Regions from separate parts of the Homo sapiens genome. Here region 2 is linked to region 1. The links are contacts of gene promoters, found by promoter capture Hi-C in blood cells and fetal thymus (Javierre and others, 2016). All regions are on one chromosome and are shown on one strand. The core of a region is centred on a gene start or on the middle of the fragment in contact, and the rest is flanking DNA. Distances in the headings are between cores, read along the strand shown.

The links. The method cuts DNA at HindIII sites, captures the fragments that hold promoters and counts their contacts. A CHiCAGO score of 5 or more calls a contact.
Region 2: a fragment that was not itself captured here is called in contact with the fragment with the promoter of HNRNPD in region 1 in 1 of 17 cell types (neutrophils); the score reaches 5.7 in neutrophils.

What each region holds. Positions count from the first base shown.
Region 1 is chr4:82,372,530-82,377,227 of GRCh38, forward strand. HNRNPD (heterogeneous nuclear ribonucleoprotein D) reads right to left here and starts at 1,462. Exons shown (of 9, transcript NM_031370.3): 1 at 917-1,462. The coding sequence starts at 1,149. It overlaps HNRNPD-DT (HNRNPD divergent transcript), which reads left to right and starts at 2,039. Exons shown (of 2, transcript NR_183813.1): 1 at 2,039-2,136. RefSeq lists enhancers at 11-60, 1,421-1,590 and a silencer at 961-1,060. The HindIII fragment of the contact is 7,055 bases long and covers 1-2,588 here.
Region 2 is chr4:77,858,762-77,863,685 of GRCh38, forward strand. MRPL1 (mitochondrial ribosomal protein L1) reads left to right here and starts at 4,069. Exons shown (of 9, transcript NM_020236.4): 1 at 4,069-4,118. The coding sequence starts at 4,088. RefSeq lists a silencer at 2,057-2,272 and enhancers at 3,757-4,156, 4,517-4,616. The HindIII fragment of the contact is 4,015 bases long and covers 1,174-4,924 here.

The DNA.
Region 1 (4,698 bases), core at 212-2,711:
GCTGGGGGTTGTAAAAAATTAGGTTGCACATAAAAAGTAAGGTACAATCTGTACTAACAGTTGGGGAACCCAATAGCTGAGGGCGCGAAAAGGGTGCGCGGTTAGAATAACTCAGTGGGGTGGGGGAAGGGTAGATGCTAGGCCGGAGATAGGAACAGCTCCAGTCAAGTGCAGGCCCGATCGACTAAGAACTTAACCAGAGCCCGCGGAGCAAAACCAATGTACCAACAAGAAACTCGGAGCATTTCACCAGACCCAATTTGGTCTGCATGTCAAAATGTAGGGCCTGTATGAGTATGCCATTGTGCGATAGCGTATGGTGGAGAAAATGAGTAAATCCTTAGGCGAAACTTATTCAAAATCCCAAGAAAACAGTCGGCCTAAGGCCGACAAGGGAGAGGCAGAGGTGGACAGCCTACGCGTTCCCCAAAACATGTGCTTATAAACAATCGCATCGTTTCAGGATGGTGGAGAAGCACCAAATAAACCTTAGTAATACAAACAGAGAAGCTGTTTGTGTCTGTGTTTTTATGCCCAAGACTGTAGAAAAAGGGAAAAAGAGGGGACAGCATGGAAAGAAAAAAGGTACCCCACGACAGGCGGGAAAAAATCCTGGCGGCTAAGTCGGTGGGAGGAGACCCATGGCGAGGGAGGAAAGGAGGGCGGGCCGAGGAGCAGCATGGTGACGGCTAAAGGTGGAAACGTGTGTGATGGGGGAGGGGGGCGATAAGCAGGCAAAGGAAGAAGGAAATGAAGGTCCGGGGAACCCAACATAGAAAAAGGGAGACCAGTGCAAGGAGGCTGCATGGGGGCCCGGAGAACGGGCTGAGAGCGGGAACCAGGCCTAATGGCGGGGGAATAAAGAGGGGGAGGGGGACTAGTTGGGCCTGACTATCCTGGGATGCCCCTTACTCACCCTTCATCCTCCTCGTTCTTACTGGCGTCAATCTTCGCCCCCTCCGACTCGGCGCTGCCCCCTTCGGTGCCTCCAGACGCGGTTCCGCCCCCGGTCCCGGCTCCGCTTCCCGCCGCCGCCGCTGCCCCCTGTGTCGCCGCCACCATGGCTCCCTCCTGCTCGCCCGCCGAGCCGCCTACCGCCGCCGTTGCCGCTGCCGCCGCCCCGTCCCCGCCGAACTGCTCCTCCGACATAGTGCTAGTGTCTCCGCCGCTGCCGCCGAGACTACACCCGCCGCTGCCGCGAACCGAAACTAGCAGCAAAGTAATCCCCGCCGCTGCCGCGCGCCCGCTCTACCTCGCGAAGCACACAAGACAGGGAAGGCGCGCGCGTGGCTGCAAAGGCTCCTGCGCCTCTCCCTGGCCTGCCCCCTTCGCCTCCCACTCTCGCGCGGCGCACACTCCCGCTCTCTCCCGCTGCACTAAAAAAGAATAAGCACCAGCGGCGGCCGCTCTCGCCTCCTCCTCGCTTTAATGGCGCCGCCGCGGACCACCTAAAATGGCCGACGGAAGAACGGCGCGTCCCGGTCACGTGACGCGAGAGCGCGCCCTTCGCGCGTCCCCCCACCCCTATCCCCCTAGTTTTTTTTTTTTCCCTTTCCTCCTCGGTCCCGCCCTCTCGCTACCCTTTATACCTTCCTCTCACGCTCCGCGTTGCACAGCCTTGGGGGCCTTTAAAAGGAACCGGAAGTGTCGTGAGCTAAGACAGTCGCGCGGGGACCATCGAGAACAAGGAGTGCTGTTTCGAAGTAGCGGCTAGAGGGGCCCCCTGCCTCCGCCCCCGCCCTTCCGAGGATTCCTGGAGTCCACTCACCCCTCCCCACCACTCCAGTAGCGGCGGGAGCAGCAGCGTTAGGCCGGGGTGTGGCTGCACCTCTGCGAAGGCTGTCGTGCCCCGTGCAGCTGCGGCGTTCGGGTGGGGGAGGGGAGGCTCACACCCTGCGGCGGCTTAAGCCTGGATTTACGCACTGGAGGAGGGAATTAGCCCTGAGATGTCAGCCCTGTGCCCCTGGCGCTGTCCACCCGGACGCCCGCGGAGCGCCAGGCGCCGCAGCGGACCGCGCGCGCACTGATTGCCGCAGCTACTCTCCCTGCCGTCGCCGCCCGGGACCGGGTGACATTGAGGTTTTCGTCTATCGCCGCTGGGCCGATAGGGCTTCTTTTTAAGATTTGGCTTTCCAAGTAAGATTTTTGTTTGCCTGCTTTTCTCCTGGAATTTTTTTGTTTTTGGTCGAAGAAGCAGGTAACTTGCATATCTTAAGGAAAACATTGTTTTTGCTTTGCTTTTGTTGTTTAAAGATCCTAAAACGTACCGTGATTCCTTTACGTTACTAATAATTGGAAAGTGTGTTAAATCAAGGGTTCGCTTAATGTTCTTTAGCCTTTGTACATAGAATATATAAATGTCGTGAGTCATCTTTACGAGGTTTATGAGTTTGTGTTCGGGTTTGGCTTTTTTGTTGTGTGTGCGTGGTTTTTTTTTTTCTTTTCTTGTAACACCGTTAGGCGTTTCATTAAGGTGTATAAAAAGTAATTTTATACACCTATTAAAAATTCCCGCTGCCTCGGCTGGAGACTGGATTATTCGGGCTTTGGGATTTGCTGCTTCCAGCAGTATCCTTAGAAGAAAATGAAGCTTCTAGGTACTTCTGTAGTCAACAAATAATTATTTGCCTGTTTAATTAAAGTGTTCGGGCACGGGGGAAACAAAGACGAGTTTGCAGACTCCAGCAAAAATCTTAAGAGTTTAAGTATTTGGGCCGGGCGCGGTGGCTCACGCCTGTAATCCCAGCACTTTGGGAGGCCGAGGCGGGCGGATCACGAGGTCAGGAGTTCGAGACAAGCCTGACCAACATGGTGAAACCCCCGTGTCTACTAAAAATACAAAAATTAGCCGGGCGTGGTGGCCGGTACCTGTAATCTCAGGTACTCAGGAGGCTGAGGCAGGAGAATCGCTTGAACCCGGGAGGTGGAGATTGCAGGGAGTCGAGATCATGCCACTTGCACTCCAGCCTGGGCGACAGAGCGAGACTCCGTCTCAAAAAAAAAAAAAAAAAAAAAGTTTAGGTATTTTCCACTGCAGTTAAACGAATTTGTATTAATTGGACACTATCCAAAAATCTCAAAGGAAGATTATAAGTAAGTTTTATTAATCAAGTTAGTAGAATTTACATTACAGAATAATTAAAACTCAAGAATACAGGTCAAATTCTGAAAACGTCCTAAAAATATAATCTTACCAAACTCCCGTAATAATCAAGTCACATAAAGGTAATACCAAGAATGTTTACCGTAAAGTGGTAGTGACTCCACATTTGTCTCCACCTGCCAGAATATTAGCAAAGGATAAAGTGGATATGGTGCTCAAACCATATATTCCGGGTTAGATACAACTAAGATGATTGACTGAAGGGAAGTCTGTTTAATCTTTTCTGGCTCAAGTGACGGTAATTGTCATTTATTTTGATCTTAAGATATCATTAGACATACCCACCTTTTGGTAATAGTGACTTTTCCAAAAGGTTCATTTTGATTTCACATGTAGCTTAGGAGCTTCTGGAATTCTTAGAATTTATGTCAAAAGTTCCAGACAACCTAGGAATGATTTTAAAGCTAACACCTTTACATGCTTTATGAGGATGTATGATGTCCATATCACTGATAGTCCTTGATATTATGGCCAAGATCTCTACATCCAGGATGTGCTCCTGCATCCACACAATATTCTTCTTGGAACTCACTTAACTTCTGGCAGGCGTGGTGGCTCACGCCTGTAATCCAGCACTTTGAGAGGCCAAGTCGGGAGGATTGCTTGCCTCAAGGAGTTGGCCATCAGCCTGGGCAACGGAGTGAGACCTTGCCTCTACAAAAAGTCAGAAAATTAACCTGGCATGGTGGTTCCTGTTGTTCCAGCTACTCCTGAGGCTGAAGTGGGAGGATCACTTGAACCTGGAAGGTGGAGGCTGCAGTGAGAAAGGCAGAGTGAGACCCTGTCTCAAAAACAAACAAATGTTACTATTTATGTGAAGTCTTCCCAGGCTTCCTGAGGCAGAATTAATGATCCCTTTTCACAGCCCTTTATCTTTACCTCTGTTATTCTTCATTGTTTTCTACTAGACCATGAGTTCTTAGAAAACAGTGTCTTCTATGTATCTCTCCCTCCCTAACACACTCTCACACACACATAAACACAGCAGCAGTATATCCACACTATGTAATTGCCAGTTGAATTATTGAATGACAAAATAATAAGTATGTCCAACTTGTTAGATTAAGGGGCTTTCAAGCAAACTAGGTGTTCTTCCAGGGACTTGAAAGTCTCCTCTCCACACCATCTCATTTCATCTCTGGCATTAAAAAAAAAAAAACTTTTGGCCAGGTGCTGTGGCTCATGCCTATAATCCCAACACTTTGGTAGGCCAAGGAGGGATGATTGCTTGAGCCCAGGAATTTTTTTTTTTTTTTTTTTTTTTTTGAGACAGAGTTTCACTCTGTTGCCCAGGCTGGAGGTGCAATGGCGCGATCTCGGCTCACTCCCGGGTTGACGCCATTCTCCTTCCTGTCTCCCAAGTAGCTGGGACAACAGGCACCTGCCACCACGCCCGGCTAATTTTTTTTGTATTTTTAGTAGAGACGGGGTTTCACTGTGCTAGTCAGGACGGTCTCGATCTCCTGACCTCGTGATCCGCCCGCCTCGGCCTCCCAAAGTGCTGGGATTACAGGTGTGAGCCACCGCGCCCGGCC
Region 2 (4,924 bases), core at 1,931-4,430, 4.5 Mb before region 1:
TGAAAGTACGGTCACTGGGCCAGTAAATCAGTATCTCCTGAGAATTTATTATACTCACAGGCCCCATCTCAGACCTACTGGATCAGAAGCTCTGGGGGTGGGGCCCAGCAACCTGAGTTTAACAAGCCTTCTGAGTGATTCTGATGCACATTACTGAAATAGGAAATGTCTTGGAGTTCCTTATTTTTGTCTAATAAGAGAATCCATTTTCTTTTTTCTTTTTATTTTGAGATGGAGTTTCACTCTTGTTGCCCAGGCTGGAGTGCAATGGCGCGATCTTGGCTCACGGCAACCTCTGCCCCCTGGGTTCAAGCGATTCTCCTGCCTCAGCCTCCCATGTAGCTGGGATTACAGTCATGCACCACCACGCCTGGCTAATTTTGTATTTTTTTAGTAGAGACAGGGTTTCTCCATGTCGGTCAGGCTAGTCCCGAACTCCTGACGTCAGGTGATCCACCCGCCTCGGCCTACCAAATGCTGGGATTACAGGCGTGAGCCACCACGCCCGGCCGAGAATCCATTTTCAACTTGAACCCCAAAGGGAAGTGACACTTCTTGCAAAGAAGTTTCCAACTCAACTGGAAGATGGCTGAAGAAGGCAGAGAACACAGATCAAGTAAGTTACAGGGCTAGACAAATATTTATTAGCTTTTCCCAGGGAAATTAGCCAAGCAGGCTGGCAGCTGGCATTTTGCCAAGACTCCTGGAAAGTATAAATCTTCCTAGAAATCAAAAGTTGCATTTTAAAGTGAATTTTAAGTCCATAATACAGTCTAAAGACCTTCTGCAAATACATATAAAAGTTCTAATATAAAGAAAGTGACATCCTTATACATGTGGGAATAACAACAGCATGGATCATGTTAAGAAATAAGCAGATATTGGAAGAAGGAGTACTAGAACAGCTTATTCATTTTGCCTTTCTGGTTCAGAGCTCTCACTGGTTCTTTAATAATGACACTTAATATTTTTTGAGTGCTTACTCTGTGCCAAGTACTTCAGTAAGCACCTCAGTAAATTATTTTATTATTAGCCCCATATCAGGGAAACCAAGGCCCAGAGAGGTATATAAATTTGCCCCAGGTCACACAACTACTAAGTGATAATACTGGAATTCAAACCTAGGCAGTTTGGCTCCAGGGCACAGCTGCTTAACCAAAATGCTCTATTACAAGCTTATCCAACCCACAGCCTGCCAGCCACATGCAGCCCAGTATGACTTTGAATGCGGCCCAACACAAATTTGTAAACTTTCTTAAAACATTATGAGATTTTTTGATGATTTTTTTTTTAAGTTCATCAGCTATCATTAGTGTATTTTATGTGTGGTCTAAAAGATTGGATATTCCTGCTCTATTACCTCTTTTTAGTGAGAAGAAACTCATTATGTACTAAATATTTACAGTCTTGGAGTTCCCATTTCAGAGTATGGATTTTTGTAGTTTTTATAAAGTCCTTTTGTTGTTTTTATAAAGTCTCAGGCTAAGGCCGGGAGCGGTGGCTCACGCCTGTAATCCCGGCACTCTGGGAGGCCGAGGCGGGTGGATCACGAGGTCAGGAGACTGAGACCATCCTGGCTAACACGGTGAAACCCCGTCTCTACTAAAAATATAAAAAATTAGCCGTGCATGGTGGTGGGCGCCTGTAGTCCCAGCTACTCGGGAGGCTGAAGCAGGAGAATGGCGTGAACCTGGGAGGCGGAGCTTGCAGTGAGCCCGAGATCACACCACTGCACCCCAGCCTGGGCGAAAGAGTGAGACTTCGTCTCAAAAAAATAAAAATAAAGTCTCAGGCTAAGGAATCTCTTTATGTATTGTTATATACAAAACTGGAATCTGGATCCTACCTAATGCCATCGAGTTCTGGTGACCAGAGTGGGCAACAGGTAAGCTGTACCTGTACAGGACATTACTTTAATTAGGCTACCACTATAAGCATACTATATGGTATGTAAGCATACTATATGGTAATAGTTTCAATATAGGATGTTTAAACTCTCTTGTTAGAACAGTAGACATAAAAAAGTCCATAAATGGGGCCTGCCGTGTTGGTTCACACCTGTAATCCCAGCACTTTGGGATTGCTTGAAGCCAGGAGTTTGAGACCAGCCTGGGCAAAAAAGAAAGACACCCCACACTCCCCGCTGTCTATAAAGAAAAATAAAAATAAGTTAGCCAGGTGTGGTGGTGTGTGCCTGTAGTCCCAGCCCCTTGGGAGGCTGAGACATGAGGATCACTTGAGCCCAGCAGGTGAAGGCTGCAATGAGCTATGATCTTGTCACTGCACTCCAGCTTGGGTGTCAGAGTGAGATCCTGTCTTGAGAGGGGGAAAAAAAAGTCCACAGATGGGGGCCAACTGACCCCAGCTGTGGACTGTGGAAAGGAAACAGATATAGGGTCTAAGGACCAGCACCTCTAATCTGAGTGTTTGTTTTTCTCTGAAATTGACTGGGTAAACTTGCTCCAATTCTGGTACTTACTCTCAAATTGAATTAGTTTTTTTCATTTATGCATAGCCAAGTACACTGCTTGACACATGGCAGGCACTCATATATTTGTGAAAAGAAGGGAGGATGAGAGGGAGCGAGGGAGAGAAGGAAAAGTTTACAAAGATAGATTTAAGTTCTTCGATTTTTTTGCATAAGTCACAAATTGTTATAGAATCTTTGAAGTAACTGCTTAGGTGTTAACAAGACAAGGCAATACATTAGAAATCTTATTTTTTCATGTAGATGAGTACTATGTATAAATATGAATAAAGCATCTGGGAAATGCCTTTGATCCAGTTCATCTGCCTGTGGGCAGCTTCATTGAAGCAAGTTAATTTTGCAGGCTTGCCATTCTAATTGAGTCACTAATTCATGTATGCATATATTCATTTATTCAGCAAACATTTACTGAGAGCCTCCTATGGGCCTGGCACTGAAGTATGTGCTGAGGTTACAAAAATGAGTAAGATGGTTTCTACCCATAAAAAGCTCAGACTGGTGACAAGAACTGATATATTGTGGTGATGGCTGCACAACTCTTTGAGTACACTAAAAACCATTTAATTGTACAATTTAAATTGGTAGATTGTATGCTATGTAAATTATATCTCAAAACTGTTTAAAAGAAACACAGCCTGAGGCGAAATCTTTAAAAAGTTACCTAGGTGATGTAGGGTACGGTACACACGAAGCAGAGAAGATAGAATGAACCAAGTTATGGAGGTGAGAAACGTGTGTGTGTGTGTGTGTGTGTGTGTGTGTGTGTGTGTGTTGTGGGGGAGGTAAGCTGGGAAGTGATAAAATCCGTAATCAGATTTGTTTTAGATAAACCACACCGACAGCTGTGACGTAATGGAAAGTACACTCATTCTGTTTTGTTTTTGTTTTTTTTTCCTATCAGAATAACTTGTGCGTGGGTCTTGGAGCTGCCATTTTAAAACTAGAAATGTTTTATAAATGTCAAGTATTATTATTCAATTGATCCTAATGGTAAGTCTACTCGCTTGCCAGCAGGGGGTAAATGTAGAGATTAATTTAAGATTTTAAAGCTAAGGTTGATCTTGCGCTGACAGAAAGTTTGACAATTAGCAAAAAAAGTTTGTCAGTGAGTTGGACACCTCCCTCGGGTAGCGGCGAAAACGCCTAGAGAATTTTTAAAATAAGTCTTTCCAAGGCCGGAAAAGTGGCGGAGGAAGCTAGTGGGTTTCAGGGTTCCTGTTTTTCAAGATTTTACGTTGGGTATTAAGTACTCTCACAGCCTGTTAAAATTGTCGCTCTGAGTACACTTGCAGGATCAAAAAAGAAAAAGAATAAGAAGGAAGGATTAAAATAATCACAGCATCGCCAACAGGATCGTATTTTCCCGAAGGTGGTTAACCAGCCATACCGGAACCACGAAACACACAGGGTCCTGGGCAACACGGAGGACTAACAGTAACACCGCCACGCCGGCAGCAAAGCTCATTTTGGTCCCCGCCCCGTTCCTCTTTCTCTTTTTAACTCCTTCCCTCTTTGCGGATTCTAGAACGGAACCTTTTTTTAATTCTTCCCAGTAGAAACGTAGGAACAATTTCGTGAACGCAATCCGGAGTGCCCAACATGGCGGCGGCCGTAAGGTGCATGGGTAGAGGTAAGGCGAGGGGTTGTCTTGCAGGGGAAATGGCTCTGGCACCGAGTCTCTGGTTGCAGCAGAGTGCAAGGCGGATTCTGCTCTGGGTGCTGAAAATGCCTCGTGCTGTTTCTGGTCTCTAGGTTTTTCAGAGGGTGGGTCATTACTACTTAAAAGTGACCTTATGAAGGGTTTCACTCCATTCTGGAGACGTCCACCCTGAGGGAGGGAGTGGGAGCGGGACGTACATCGAGCGCCCTCCAGCCACCTATGGGCATGGCAAGGACTGGGTCGTCTCTGATACTGGGGTGTGGGCTGCGGGTAGTGGAGTGTGATAAGTGAGGTGAGTTCTGATAAGGGAAAGATGATGTATTTGAGTGGCTTAAGTCTGTAAATTAGAGCAATTTTCAAAGTGCTTTTTGGTGCTTTCGGAATTACTTCGTTATAGGCGATTCCAGTTCTTAAACTTCCATAGGTGGTCTAATTTGGATCAACGTTTATCATTTGAGGGGGCTAATTCTGTAGTACCTCTTGGTAGCGCCTCTTTTCATCTTAATAATTTCAACTTTTTGTCTACGATGACAGCCCTTTCTTGTGCAACAATTTTTTTTTTTTTTTTTTTTTGAGACGGCAGTCTCGCTCTGCCACCCAGGCTGGGAGTGCTGTGGTGCGATCTCAGCTCACTGCAACCTCCGTCTCCCAGGTTCAAGCGATTCTCCTGCCTCGGCCTCCCGAGTAGCAGAGACTACAGGCGTGTGCCACCATGCCTGGCTAATTTTTGTATTTGTAGTAGAGACAGGGTTTCACCATGTTGACCAGGCTAGTCT